Regions from separate parts of the Homo sapiens genome. Here all the other regions are linked to region 2. The links are contacts of gene promoters, found by promoter capture Hi-C in human tissues and cell types (Jung and others, 2019). All regions are on one chromosome and are shown on one strand. The core of a region is centred on a gene start or on the middle of the fragment in contact, and the rest is flanking DNA. Distances in the headings are between cores, read along the strand shown.

Region 1 (4,398 bases), core at 106-2,605, 62 kb before region 2:
AAAAGAACCATGAGCAAATTAAACATCTTTTCTTTATAAATTACCCAGTGTCAGATATTTTTATACCAACATAAGAATGGCCTAACACAGGGTTTATTGCTGATATGGCTAAAGCTTGAGTAGTCAGGATAGAAGACTAAACCAGCCACAACCTTCCCTTAAGCCAAAGACTATTCAAGAGTAAGGCTCTAACTCTCTTCACTTATATGAAGGTGAAGAGAGGTAAGGAATCTGCAGGAAAAAAAAATGAAGATAGCAGAAGTTGGTTCATGGGGTTTAAGGGAAAGGAGCCATCATGATAACATGAAAGTAAAAAGAAAAGCAGTAAGTGCTGATGGAGAAACTACAGCAAGTTATCCAGATGATCTAGCCAAGATTATTGATGAAGGTTGCTATACCAAACAACTATTTTGAATGTAGATGAAACGGCCTCATATTGGAAGAAAATGCTATCTAGGATTTTCATAACTAAAAAGAAGTCATGTCTTGATTTGAAAACTTCAAAGAACAAAGACTACCTTGTTAAAGGCTAATACAGCTGGTGACTTTAAGTTGAAGCCAATGATCATTTAACATTCTAAAAATCCTAGAGCTCTTAAGAATTGTGAAAAATCTACTCTTCCTAGGCTACATAAATGGAAAAACAAAGCCTGTTTACTGTGTGGTTTACTGAATATTTTAAGCCTACAGTTGAGACCTACAGCTCAGAAAAAAGATTCTTTTCAAAATATTGCTGCTCATTGTCAATACAACTGGTCACCCAAGAGCTATGATAGATATGTACAAAGAAATTAATGTTCTTTTCATGCCTGCTATCACAACCTCCATTCTTCAGCTCATAGATCAAGGAGTAATTTTCACCTTCAAGTCTTATTACTTGAGAAATACATTTTATAATTCTATAGCTGCTATAGATAGTGATGTATCTGATGTATCTGAGCAAACTAAATTGAAAAGCTTCTAGAAATGATTCTACATTCTAGATACCATTAAGAATCTTCATGCTTTTTGAAAGTAAGCCAAAATATCAACATCTAAGGGACTCTGGAAGAAGTTAATTCTAATCCTCATAGACAATTTTAATAGGTTCAAGACTTCAGTAAAGGAAATAACTGCAGATATGGTGGAAATTGCAAGAGAAATAAGAATTAGAAGTGGAGCCTGAAAATGTGAATGAATGTGACAATCTCATAATAAAAGTTAAACAGATGAGAAATTGCCTCTTATGAATAAGCAAAGAAAGTTGTTTCTTGAGATGGAATATACTCCTGGTCAAGATATTATGAACAATGCTGAGATGACAAGAAAACATTTAGAATATTATGTAAACTTAATTGATGAAGCAAGGACAAGGCTTAAGAGGACTGACTTCAATTTTGAAAGAACCTCTATTCTGGGTAAAATGCTTTCAAACACATTGCATATTACAGAGAAATCTTTAGTGAAAGGAAGGGCCAATTTATGGGGCAAACTTTATTGTCGTCTCATTTTAAGAAATTTCTGCATCCATCTCTACCTTCAGCTATCACAACCCTGACCAGTCATTAGCCATCAACAAGAAGGCAAAATCCTCTACCAGGAAAAAGATTGCAGCTCACTGAAGGCTCAGATGATCATTAGCATTTGTTGGCAAGAAAGTATTTTTTAATTAAGCTATGCACTTTTTTAGACATAATGCTATTGCACATGTAATAGGCTATAATATTGTGTAAACATAACTTTTACATGAACTGAAAAATAGACAAAACCGGCGTGACTCACTTTATTGTGATGTTTCCTTTATTGCAGTGGGCTGGAACTGCACCTGAAATTTCTTACAGGTATGCCTCTTTGGCTTTGATTGTGCTAAGTTATTTCTATACCTAACTTGTTTAGAGTTTTTATTATGAAAGGGTGTTGAAATTTGTCAAATGACTTTTCTTCATCTACAAAAAAGATCTTGTGATTTTTTATTCTTCATTCTGTTTCTGGAGTGTATGATAATATTTGATTTGTATATGTCGAACTATCCCTGCTTACTGGGGTAAATCCCACTTGGTCATGGCGTATGATCCTTTTAGTATGCTGTTGAACTTTGTTTACTAATATTTTGATGAAAATTTTTGCAATCAGATTCATCAGGGATATTGACCTTTAGTTGTTTTTTCTTGTGGTTTCTGTCTGTTAGTGTCAAGGTGATGCTGGCCTTATAAAAAGATTTCAGAACTGTTCCCTCTTCTATTTTTTCTGAAGAGTTTAAGAAGGATTTGTAATATGTTTTTAAATGCTTGGGACAATTTATCTATGAAGTCATTAATTCACGTGTTTTTCTTTTTTGATTACTGAGTCAATCTAATTTGTTATTAATATGTTCAGGCTTTTGATTTCTACTTGACTCAGTCTTGGCAGAGTGTATGTTTCTAAGAATGTATTCATTTCTTCTAGGTTGCCCTGTTGGTGCATGATTGTTCATAATAGTCCCTTATAATCTCTTTCTTAAAAAATTGTGGCATTGATTGTAACATTGCCTTCTCCATTTCTGATTTTATCTTCTCTCTTCTTTTTTAAGTTAGTGTAGATAAGAGTTTTTAAATTTTAATTATCTTTTCACAAAACAAACCCTAAAATTTATTTTTTAATATTTAACAAAATCTCTATTTTGTTTATTCCTTCTCTAATATTTATTATTTCCTTCCATCCCCTAAGTTAAGGCTGTCCTTTATTTCTTGTTTCTTGAGACACAATACTGGGCAATGGTTACATCTCCATTTCCTTAGAATGGTTTATTTGAGCTTTATTTTTTTCCTTTGCTGGTGTCATGTTTCCCTGGTTCTTCGTGATTATTGTAAACTTGCATTCATGCCTCTGCATTTGAAGAAATACTCAACTCTTCTAGTCTTTACAGACTGACTTTGACATGGAAAGCCCTTCACCTGTCATCCTGGCCAGATATTTTCGATGGACTAGCTAGTAGGGATCTTTAACATGTGGGCTTTGGGCCTGGGCCCACGGGTAGGATGGCCTGATGCCAGAGTCTGTAGTCCTTGAGTAAGTATTTAATCTACACCTTTAAATTCACACAAAAACATGGATCACTTTGTCAAAATATTCATCCATGTTGAGATCAGATAAGTCCAGCACAGGGTTTTATGACCTTACGCTATTAATATTTTGAGCTGGATAATTCTTAATTTGGGTGGGGGGTTGTTCTGAGCATTGTAGGATGTTTAGCAGAATCTCTAGTTCCTATGTATTTGATTCCAAACTGAAATGTCTCCAGACATTGTCATATATGCCTAAGGAAGAGCATCAAAGTCACCACCCTTGTAAAATTACTGAAAATCTTGAAGCAATCAAACACTTTATGATGAGTGATTCGCCTGAAACTTGTACCTTTAACCATGAGCCAAAAAATCAATACATGTAAACTATGTCATATAAACTGTTATTATCAGAACTCTCTTTATGTTAGAATTACGGTTTTTATTGCATTTCTGTGCACTTTTGACTTTCCGACTTTTTTACTTTCAATACTTCTAACAACATTTGCCGAATTTCTCTAACAGTATACATTTTAACTTTTAGGTTCAGGCATACATGTGCATGTTTGTTATATAGGTAAACTGTGTGTCATAGGGGATTGGTGTACAGATTATTTCACCATCCAGGTAATAAGCAATAGTACCTGATAGGTAGTTTTTAAAATCTTCTCTCTGCTGCCATCCTCCAGCCTAAAGTGGGCTCCAGTGTCTGTTGTTCCCCTTTTTGTGTCCACGTGTTCCCATTGTTTACCTCCCAGTACACATAAGAATATGCCGTATTCAGTTTTCTGTTCCTGCATTGGTTTACTTAGGATAATGACCTCCAGCTCCATTCATGTTGCTGCAGAGTATGATCTCATTCATTTTTATGGCCGCATAGTATTCCATGGTGTATATGTACCCTATTTTCTTAATTCAGTCTACCATTGATTTAGGTTGATTCCATGCCTTTGCTATTGTGAATAGTACTCAAATAAATATATGTATTCACATGTGTTTATGGTAGAATGATTTATATTCCTTGGATATACACCCAATAATGGGATTACTGGGTCAAATGGCAATCCTGTTTTTGTTTTTTGTTTTTTTTTCTGAGATGAAGTTTTGCTCTGTTGCCCAAGCTAGAGTGCAGTAACACTCGGTTCATTGCAACCTCTGCCTCCTGCGTTTAAGTGATTCTCCCGCCTCAGCCTCCCAAGTGGCAGGGATTACAGGCACCTACCACCACACATGGTTAATTTTTGTATTTTTAGTACAGACAGGGTTTCACCATGTTGGCCAGGCTGGTCTCGAACTCCTGACCTCAGGTGATCCACCCGCCTCAGCCTCCCAAAGTGCTGGGATTATGGGCATAAGCCACCTCACCTGGCCAGTAGTT
Region 2 (4,680 bases), core at 1,126-3,625:
ACATCGCCAAATGTCCTGGTAGGGGGTGGGGAGGAACCATTCCCTGTTGAAAACTATAGTTCAGCAGGATGAAAACAAACTACAGAAATACAGAGGCAGAAGAAAGAGCATGTTTCCCATCAGTGTATTTTAAGATGTTTTAAGCTTCTCAGGAGGATCTTTAGATAATTTGGACAGTTTTCCTGTATAAGAGTGGTGGAAACTGCAGCAATGCAGCATTTCGGACCTGATCTCTCGCCATTGGCTTCACTCTACCTTGCTCTTCACGTGGAGGTCAGCTAGTAATAATTTCAGTTTCTTTTGGATCTCGGTCAGAGCATCAATTTTCTGCTCCAAAATGGACAAAGACCGGGCAATGCAAAAATCAATATCATGGTGTACTCCACCAGCTCTCTCCTGGATGTTTTCCAGCCATTGGCTAGATCCCTTCCCTGAAATTGTGGTATCCTTCCCTAACAGAGTGGGTAATGTTTCAACCTCTTCAATCTCTTTCTGCTCCTCACTCTGTACATAAGGTATTTTAATAAATTCATCCCTCTGAAGGGACATTTCTGAATTTCCGATGTGACTTTTTAACATCCTTGGTGCCTCATGTCCAATCGGATAGTGGCCACGATGGTAGGGCCTTACATCTACATTTAATTTTTTTACTCTGTTTGCATATCTTAAAGTGTTGAGAGTGTTTTCACAAGAGGTCATCCCCGGAGAGATGGTAGCAATCATGCAAGTGGAGGAGTTCTGGCCTATAAAGGAGTCCCGGAGCACCAGTGTGAGTTTGCTGGCTCTGAATGGGGTGTGAGGCTTGTTCTGACCCAAAGCCAGAATACATTCTTTGAGGGCTAGAAGACTCTTGTTAATCTCTGCCCCTTCCAGCTGCCTTTTCCGGCTGGCCTTGGTTGTATCTGCTCCTCTTTCATTCCCAGCTAAATCAACGAGGGAAAACTTGCCATGCATTATCCGTCCTGACTTCAGGATGATCTGGAACACTGCATGGCTCCTGGATGAGTGAGCGTTGACAGGTGTTTGCCTGGAAGTCCGACAGCTATTCCCTATTTCCACCAGGTTCAGCACTTCCTCCACACAACACACCTCTTTCTCCTGCAGCCCGACCACTTGGATTTGCTGATTGCCATCCTCAAGGACTTGCAGCTTCTTCTTCCAGTTCAACAAATCATACACCTTGCCCCCATAAATCTCAAAAAATGTCCCATAGACTTTGAGGTCCAGCTTCTCATATGTGGAGTTTCTGAGCAGGAGAAAGACATCCTGTGCCACCAGAGCATAAATGCCCTTAGAACAATCTTGGGCCGTTCCTGAAAAGTCTCCACCCATGGTGTACGTCTTCCCACTTCCCGTCTGCCCATAGGCAAAGCAGGTGGCCATGCCCTTGCGGAAGATGGACTCCACCAGTGGCTGGGCGGTGAACTGGTACACCAACTCGTTGGAGGCTTTGTCATCGAAGGCATGGTCGAAGCAGAAGGTCTGGTTCTGCAGGTAGCGAGTGAGGTCCACCTTTTGCTTGGACTCATGCACCATAACCACATTGTCCGAGGGGACGGTGATGATATCCAGGTCCTTTAAGGTTGTCTCTCGCTGGTTGAGAGGCCGCTTCCTCACGCAGACGCAGATGCGATGTTCTTGCGGGGGCTCCAGGACTGAGATCTTGCTGCTGTCCAGGTGCCTGCGATACTCTTCGATCATGTGCATGATTTCGTAGTTGGGGTTTCTGGTATTGACATCGAGGGCGCGTCTAGCTCGGATCTCCTGCTGCAGCCGCCTGCGCTTTTCCCGCTGCTCCTGCAGTTTCTGGATTTCCCAGAGGCAGGGAGACTTTTTCTGCTTCATCAGACAAGGTTTGCTGGGGACCCTCACATCCAGGCTGTCCCCTGAGGCTGTTTGGTTTTTCTGGGGGATCATCGCAACCCATTTCGTGGCGGTACGCTGGTCCCTGATGGCCGAAGAGGGCGCCAGAGCCAAGGGGGATAAGGGCGGGGGCGGCATGGGGTGTTCAGCAGAGTCCAGAGCTGGATTCAGCAGGAGTATGGTCTCCAGGTCAATCTTCTTGCCTTTTTTGACTGCTTTCTCCACCCACTCTACCGTGACCCAATAGTTTTCTCTGTTGATCTCCGTGACCACAGCGAGGTGGATCCGCTTGTCACTGCGCTGGATCGCCACGTAGATGCCCTCTTGGATGTCTCCGAAATGTGGCTTCAAGGGTTTCAGGGGCGAGAGACATGGGGATTCAGGGAGGCAGAACTGGCTGGCCATGGTGAGTGATGGAGGTATCAGGGAGCGCTCCAGGGCCCTTGGGGTTGGAGCAGCAGGACCCAAGCCAGCCTGAAGCGCCCGGAGCACTGAGCAGGGTTGCAGTCTGTGCCTGCCTTTGTGAGCCTAGCGCGCCGGGGCCCGGACTGGGGCCACTACGTCACAAAGGGATGAGATGAGGCGGCAGAACCTAGGGCTTAGGAGTGAATGGTACGGGAGCACAAAGGGATGGAGAGATTGTTCTCTGCCAGTGAGGGTGAAGGGGTTGGAGGAGGATGTGGCGTGCTCTCCGGATCATGGCGAGAAAGAACAGGTAACAGAGAAGCAACGGGAACCATGGCGTTGAAATTTAATTTATATGTCCCGTGTACATTTATGCCTAAGCATAAAAGGAGGCCTTGGCTGGCAGTCTCAAAGCTCAGTGCTTTAATTTGAGAATTGCTATGAAGTTTCCTTAAACTTTAACTCTCCAGTGATCAGTGGGAATAGATGAAGGTAGAGCTATTTGCAAATCTCAGGACTCGATATTCAACAGGATCCCAGAAAGGCTCCTCAAACCCGCCATCTTTGTTTTTTCACCTCCTTCAAAACGTGTAACTTGTTTAAGAGTCACAACTTAAAGTTATTACAGTTTAATCGGCTTTCTCATTACAAAATCAAAATGAGTAGAATGTAGCAGGTCGTTGTGGTAATTTGCTAATATGAAACTACCTTTCGTACAGCACCTGGGTTTGCAAACACAACATGTGTATCACATTCCAAGTGGCTCTGACAGCTATAAAGTGAGTTTTGTTGTGCTGTGGTCACCACCATTTTTGAGATTAGTTCAGTAATTACCTTTCCAAACTCCTTCAGTAATTACACTTCTGGCCTCATTATCCATAATTGGGAGAGAAAGAAAAGGCATTGTGTGGAAAGAGATAATTAATCTTATACTCCCCCCACCCCTGCAGTACTTGTGTGTGTCCTTTAGAAGTTGTTAAGCAAGGCTGGAAGGCAGCTAAGACCATCGGATGCAAAAATATATTTTGCCAAGATTGCAATATTTTCATGCATAAGAATTAGCTTATAAAATAAATGACATTGACTTTTAGACAGGCCAAGCTCAGAGTAAGGGTGATGCCTTACGTTCAGCTCACTAGCAACACCCGTGCATGTTGTCTTTTGGACTGTTGAATTTTATCATAATTATAGCTCCAAAGTAACATGAAGTAGCAAGTTACAACCTTCCCTAGGAATAAGGGCCTCTATAGAAATAAATTCTACTATAAACTAACTTTTCTGTTCAGTCAGTCTAGTAAAGCTTAGATTTTGAAAAGAAGGTGGAAGGAGGATACTGGATAAATTAGATAAGTAAGCAGTGCTCATTTCAAGAGGAGGTTGTATGCAGGTGGAGGGAGAGGAGAAAGGGCTTTAGGCAATTGTCTTCTAAAAAATATCATGTTTTATTTCCCCAAATTATCAATACTTAAAGTTGTGCTTTAAATCAGTTGTTCTTTCTTGGTTTCAAGGCCATGATGTAGATATTCTTAATACACTGTATTTGTCATTAGCACTCTGTCATTCAAGTTGGAGTACAGTGGCCTGATCATAGCTCACTGCCACCTCATACTCCTAGGTTAAAGCCATCCTACCATCTCAGCTTCCTGAGTAGCTGGAATTACAGGCATGTGTCAGGATGCTTTGCTATTTTCTTTCTTTGTTTCTTTCTTTTTTTTTTTTTTCTTTTTTTTTTTTTTGCTAGGGATGAGGTCTCGCTGTGTTGCACAGAGACTGGTCTCAAACTCCTGACCTCAAGGGAGTCTCCCTTCTCACCCTCCCAAAGTGATAGAAATATAGGCTTGAGCCACTGAGCCCACATAATAGTTTGTTTTGCTTTGTTTTTTTAACCGTTACCTTTGAAAAAGCTGGGTCTCTCTCAAAATTATGAAAACTCTAGACCCTCCAGGCTAGCCATAGGGTTTTCATCTTAGCTAGTAATGTTTTAGACAGACAATGGATGAGCAGATCCATGATAATAGTGCCAAAATCAGAGAGAAAAGTTTCCTTTTACTCCCTCTTTCTCTCCAACATGTTCATACAGGTTTTCATAGCAATTTCAGGACTTTTTTTCAGTTCTTTTCTCTTTTATATAGTTTCCCTAGTATATTGCATTTGTTCCTACAGTTTAATTTTATATAAAGCTGGCTAGATAGATTGTTGATAACCAGAATTATGAGTCCTAAACTTGTAGTCACCTGCAGGAACTAAAAAGTTAACAAATCCAAAACTGATTCTGTTATTTTCTTACTGAAAATGGCAGGTCTTTGTTATTTTTAATTGCTTTTAGTAACTTCAACATTTACTCATCTTTAAAATCCTGACACAGATCTTTGTGTTCTTCCCCTTTCAGCCCATCCTAACTTAGGTAGTCCT
Region 3 (4,767 bases), core at 2,245-4,744, 56 kb after region 2:
CTCAGGAAAACATGTATTTATCTCTTGCCTTGTGTCATCAAAAGCAAAGGTGATAGTTTTGGAATACTGTAAAGATTTTCAATCCAGGCCACTACTATTGCCAGAGATGGGATCTCTTTTGAGTTTGAAGAGGATCTGAGCAGAAATGCTTATGTAAGAAAAAAGACAAGTTACTTTTCAAATTCTTCCTCTCACATTGCATGTCTACTTTTACACTTCTTTTCATGCTTTGATTCATGGCTCCAGAAATATATAAAACTAAATGTAGTATTAGCAACAGTTTCACATAGTGGCTGACTGAGGCACATTTTGCAGTATCACATATTTCAAATTACTTTTAAATTTGTATATAGGCAGGTATAGACATAATGTGTAACATGTGATACTGATTGTATTTAATTATTATTATCTACAGTATTTCTGTTCCATAAAGTTGCCTTCAGCACTGAACAAGCAAATGCTGAATAATGGGTCCTACGTAAATCTGAGGTAAGGTCCTCAAGAGCCTCTGGTCACAGCATTTTCATCAACTAATCAATACATACCTTGTTTTATGTGATTTTGTTTAAACACACCTTACTTAATGTATATTCTCAGTTCATTAACATTCAACTTATGGCTAAATGCACTGTAACTCGTGCCTGAACAAAGCAAATCTGATACATGCATTTTGTCCTGATAGAAGCTAAGAAGGACCATCTCAGCCTTCTTGTGCTTGGGCACACTAGAGAGCACTCAACATTACGTTTGGGAGTGGGCCATTTTAAATAGCAAAAAATCACCAACTAAAAGTACAAAATGCAAAAAATGTGATACTACATAGATCACCAAAAGGATTCTTATTTACATATGAAGGCTTTAACAAGAAGGCAGAGCTTCGACTTGTTTGAGCTCAGTTGGGAACTTGCACCTTAGGAAGCTCGCGTTTTTATATATAGGCAAGTCTGGGAATGACTGCAAAAGCAGTGTTGATTTCAGGGCAACAGATAGATTTTAGCAAGTAGGAGAATTTGCAAACACGGAATCCTCAAATAATGAGGATTGACTATATTTATATTCACAACCAGATGGACATTGAGGGCTACAATTGTCAATGGCTTTAGTTTTCTAGACTATTTAATGAGTTGATAAATTAATCAACTAAAATTTTAGTTTAATTAACATAATTTAAGACACTGGTATCTATTGGTAGTTTGTGTTATAATAGAATTAAGATATAAAATATGTATCTCTCATGTTATAATTTGTATTTTGTTTTTTAATTTTAATACATTTGAATATTTAGATAAAATAACTTTGTAGAAGGTCTATATGAAAAATTGTGGGCTGGGTGCAGTGGCTCATGCCTGTAATGCCAGCACTTTGGGAGGCTGAGGCGGGCGGATCACGAAGTCAGGAGATCGAGACCATCCTGGCTAACATGGTGAAATCCCGTCTCTACTAAAAATACAAAAAAATTAGTCAGGTGTGGTGGCGGGCGCCTGTAGTCCTAGCTACTCAGGAGGCTGAGGCAGGAGAACGGCGTGAACCCGGGAAGCAGAGGTTGCAGTGGGCTGAGATCCAGCCACTGCACTGCAGCCTGTGTGACAGAGCAAGACTCCATCTCAAAAAAAAAGAAAAGAAAATAAAATTTATGAAAATACCTTAGGATTTTCTTCATTTATTTTAACTTACATTTTATTTATTGGTGCATTTACTTATTTTTAAAACCTCTATAACATAGTGGATCCTCATTTCTCCATACTATTCCATTATTAGGGCATTTTTGTGGCCCTTAAGTCATATTTTAATAAAATATATAATAAAATAAGTATGCTTTGAATATAATTCCATTTTATTTTTTTAATTTCTTATTTTACACTGAGAAGGTATATAGTCTGAGATCAAGATTAAAATAAATAAAACACTCAAATGCAAACAAAAGATGGGCCCAGAAAAAAATTTTAAAGGACTGAAGGTAAATTCTTACAATCGTTAAGGTGGACATATTTAATATATTTTACTTAACAATTTGTTTGCATGATCTGTAACATTTGTTGGTGCAAAAGTAATTGCAGTTTTTGCATTGTTGGTGTTTGCTGTTTGATATTGAAATACATTCTTAAATAAATGTAGTTATGCCCATCATTTTAATTGGCATTTCTTGATTTATGGTTTTTTGCTAACGACACTACTTGCTGTTTATGTTTATTTTAGACTATTGAAATGATGTTGGACAAAAAGCAAATTCGAGCAATTTTTTTTTTTTTTTTTGAGATGGAGTCTAGCTCTGTTGCCAAGCTGGAGTGCAGTGACTCAATCTTGGCTCACTGCAATCCCTGATTCCCTGGTTGTAGAAATTCTTCTGCCTCAGCCTCCCGAGTAGCTGGGATTACAGGTGTGTGCCACCACGACCAGCTAATTTTTGTATTTTTAATAGAGACGGGGTTTCACCATGTTGGCCAGGATGGTCTTGATCTCCTGACCTCGTGATCCACCCGCCTCGGCCTCCCAAAGTGCTGGGATTACAGGCGTGAGCCACCATGCCCAGCCGCAATTTTCTTTTTCGAGTTCAAAATGGGTCGTAAAGCAGCAGAGACAACTTTGCAACATCAACAATGCATTTGGCCCAGGAACTGCTAATGAACGTACAGTGCAGTGGTGGTTCAAAAAGTTTTGTAAAGGAGACAAGAGCCTTGAAGATGAGCAGCATAGTGGCCAGCCATCGGAAGTTGACAACAAACAATTGAGAGCAATCATATAAGCTGACCCTCTTACAACTACATGAGAAGTTGCCAAAGAACTCAACATCAACCATTCTATGGTCATTTGGCATTTGAAACAAATTGGAGAGGTGAAAAAGCTTAATAAATGGGTGCCTTTTGAGCTGAGTGAAAATTTTTAAAAATTGCCATTTTGAAGTATTGTATTTTCTTATTCTATGCAACAATGAACCATTTCTTGATTGGATTGTGATATGAAATGAAAAGTGGATTTTTTATGACAACCAGCAATGACCAGCTCAGTGGTTGAGCTGGGAAGAAGCTCCAAAACACTTCCCAAAGCCAAACTTGCACCAAAAAGGTCATGGTCATTCTTTGGTGGTCTGCTGCTGGTCTGATCCACTACAGCTCTCTGAATCCTGGCAAAACCATTACATCTGAGAAATATGCTCAGCAAATCCATGAGATGCACCAAAAACTGCAATGCTTGCAGATGGCATTGGTCTACAGAAATGGCCCAATTCTTCTCCACAACGCCCGACTGCACGTCACACAACTAACGCTTCAAAAGTTGAATGAATTGGGCGATGGAGTTTTGCCTCATCTGCTATGTTCACCTGACCTCTCGCCAACTAACTACCACTTCTTCAAGCATCTCGACAACGTTTTGCAGGGAAAACACTTCCACGACCATCAGGATGTAGAAAATGCTTTCCAAGAGTTGCTTGAATCCCAAAGCACAGATTTTCACACTATGGAAATAAACAAATTCATTACTCATTGGCAAAAGTGTGTTGATTTTAATTGTTCTTATTTTGATTCATAAAGATGTGTTTGAGCTTAGTTCATGGTCTAAAACTGCAATTTCTTTTGCACCAATCTGATAGATGTAAGGTATGTGGGCCTCCATTGGTACTCTTGTTTTGAGCCCCACAGAAGTTAATGGTGGATCTTCAGCTAGGAGAGTGGTGGTGATGGTAAAGAGAATAGGATCACTCTGAATATTCACTGGTGACTGGCACTCCCATGTACACTGACTGCTGTGCCTGACTTGTGTGGGGGCCATACAAGCGGGGACAGATGAAAATCAGAAAAGTCAACTTCTGTGGAGGGAAGCTTCAAAAAAAAAAAAAGAGTAAGATTTGGAGGGGAGGGAGAGAAGAGAGTTGAGAAAAGCTCATAAAACTATGGAAATTAATTATAAATTTAAATGCCTCGTTATTGAGATTAAAAAGGAGATGAGTTCAGAAGCTCTACTCTAATTGTGAGGGTTTATTATTTATGATGCTCCATTTAGATTAGGAGTGCAGTGGCACAGAGCTCGTTTTTATCAAATGCTAATGAGCAATAATTGCTATCATAAGTAACACTACTCTTCATAATGACACAGCAGAATACCTCTTTATCACATCTATTTAGGATATTAGTGGACAGAATATAATGAGAAACAATTTTATGGTGAGACAATAACATATAAACCTTTCAAGTGAGCTATCACAATACCGATAGAAATAAAACAGTATAAATAACAGTAAGGACATTGCAGGCAGATATACTTAAGATCAAAAATCCCAAGAATGTCATTTATTAATCTGATTAATTTATTCAACCATTGCAAGACTCAGTTTCTTTATCTGGTAAAATGGGGGTATAAATTATGATTTTGCAGTGCTGTGAGAATGAAGTGAGGTGATGTAAATAAAGAACTTGTTATAGTGCCAAGAATAGAACGTTCAATAAATTGAGGCTCTATTAATAGTGGTATTATTACTCTGTTAAAATAAAAATTCAGTCATGTCACTCTTTTGCTCAAAAGCTTCTAAGGGTGCCCATATCTCAAAGAGTAAATGCCAAAGTCCCAAGGATGGCCTAGGAGGTCATTTACACTCTGGCTCTCCCCCACCCCTGATCCTTCTATTCTCTGATGGCATTTGGGGTCATCTCGTTGTATTCTTTCCTCACTCACTTCTCTGGCCACACAGGTCTCCTTGCAGTTTCTCAACAAGGTCAGGCACACTCCTAGACCAAGGCATCTGCACTTGCTGCTTTTATCCTGAAATAGTCT

The links. Contacts are between HindIII fragments. The study calls those that stand out against the background at their distance.
Region 1: a contact is called between a fragment that was not itself captured here and the fragment with the promoter of KIF2B in region 2, in 1 of the 25 tissues and cell types used here (spleen).
Region 3: a fragment that was not itself captured here is called in contact with the fragment with the promoter of KIF2B in region 2 in 2 of the 25 tissues and cell types used here (dorsolateral prefrontal cortex and heart right ventricle).

Annotation. Positions count from the first base shown.
Region 1 is chr17:53,881,613-53,886,010 of GRCh38, reverse strand. No RefSeq gene overlaps it. Among named protein-coding and RNA genes, the nearest start is that of KIF2B, 61 kb to the right of the region's middle. The HindIII fragment of the contact is 3,087 bases long and covers 1-2,898 here.
Region 2 is chr17:53,820,622-53,825,301 of GRCh38, reverse strand. It overlaps KIF2B (kinesin family member 2B), which reads right to left and starts at 2,375. Exons shown (of 1, transcript NM_032559.5): 1 at 109-2,375. The coding sequence starts at 2,268. The coding sequence ends at 247. It overlaps LOC124904030 (a long non-coding RNA gene), which reads left to right and starts at 2,376. Exons shown (of 2, transcript XR_007065851.1): 1 at 2,376-2,578. The HindIII fragment of the contact is 8,156 bases long and covers 1-4,680 here.
Region 3 is chr17:53,766,010-53,770,776 of GRCh38, reverse strand. No RefSeq gene overlaps it. Among named protein-coding and RNA genes, the nearest start is that of KIF2B, 55 kb to the left of the region's middle. The HindIII fragment of the contact is 5,389 bases long and covers 800-4,767 here.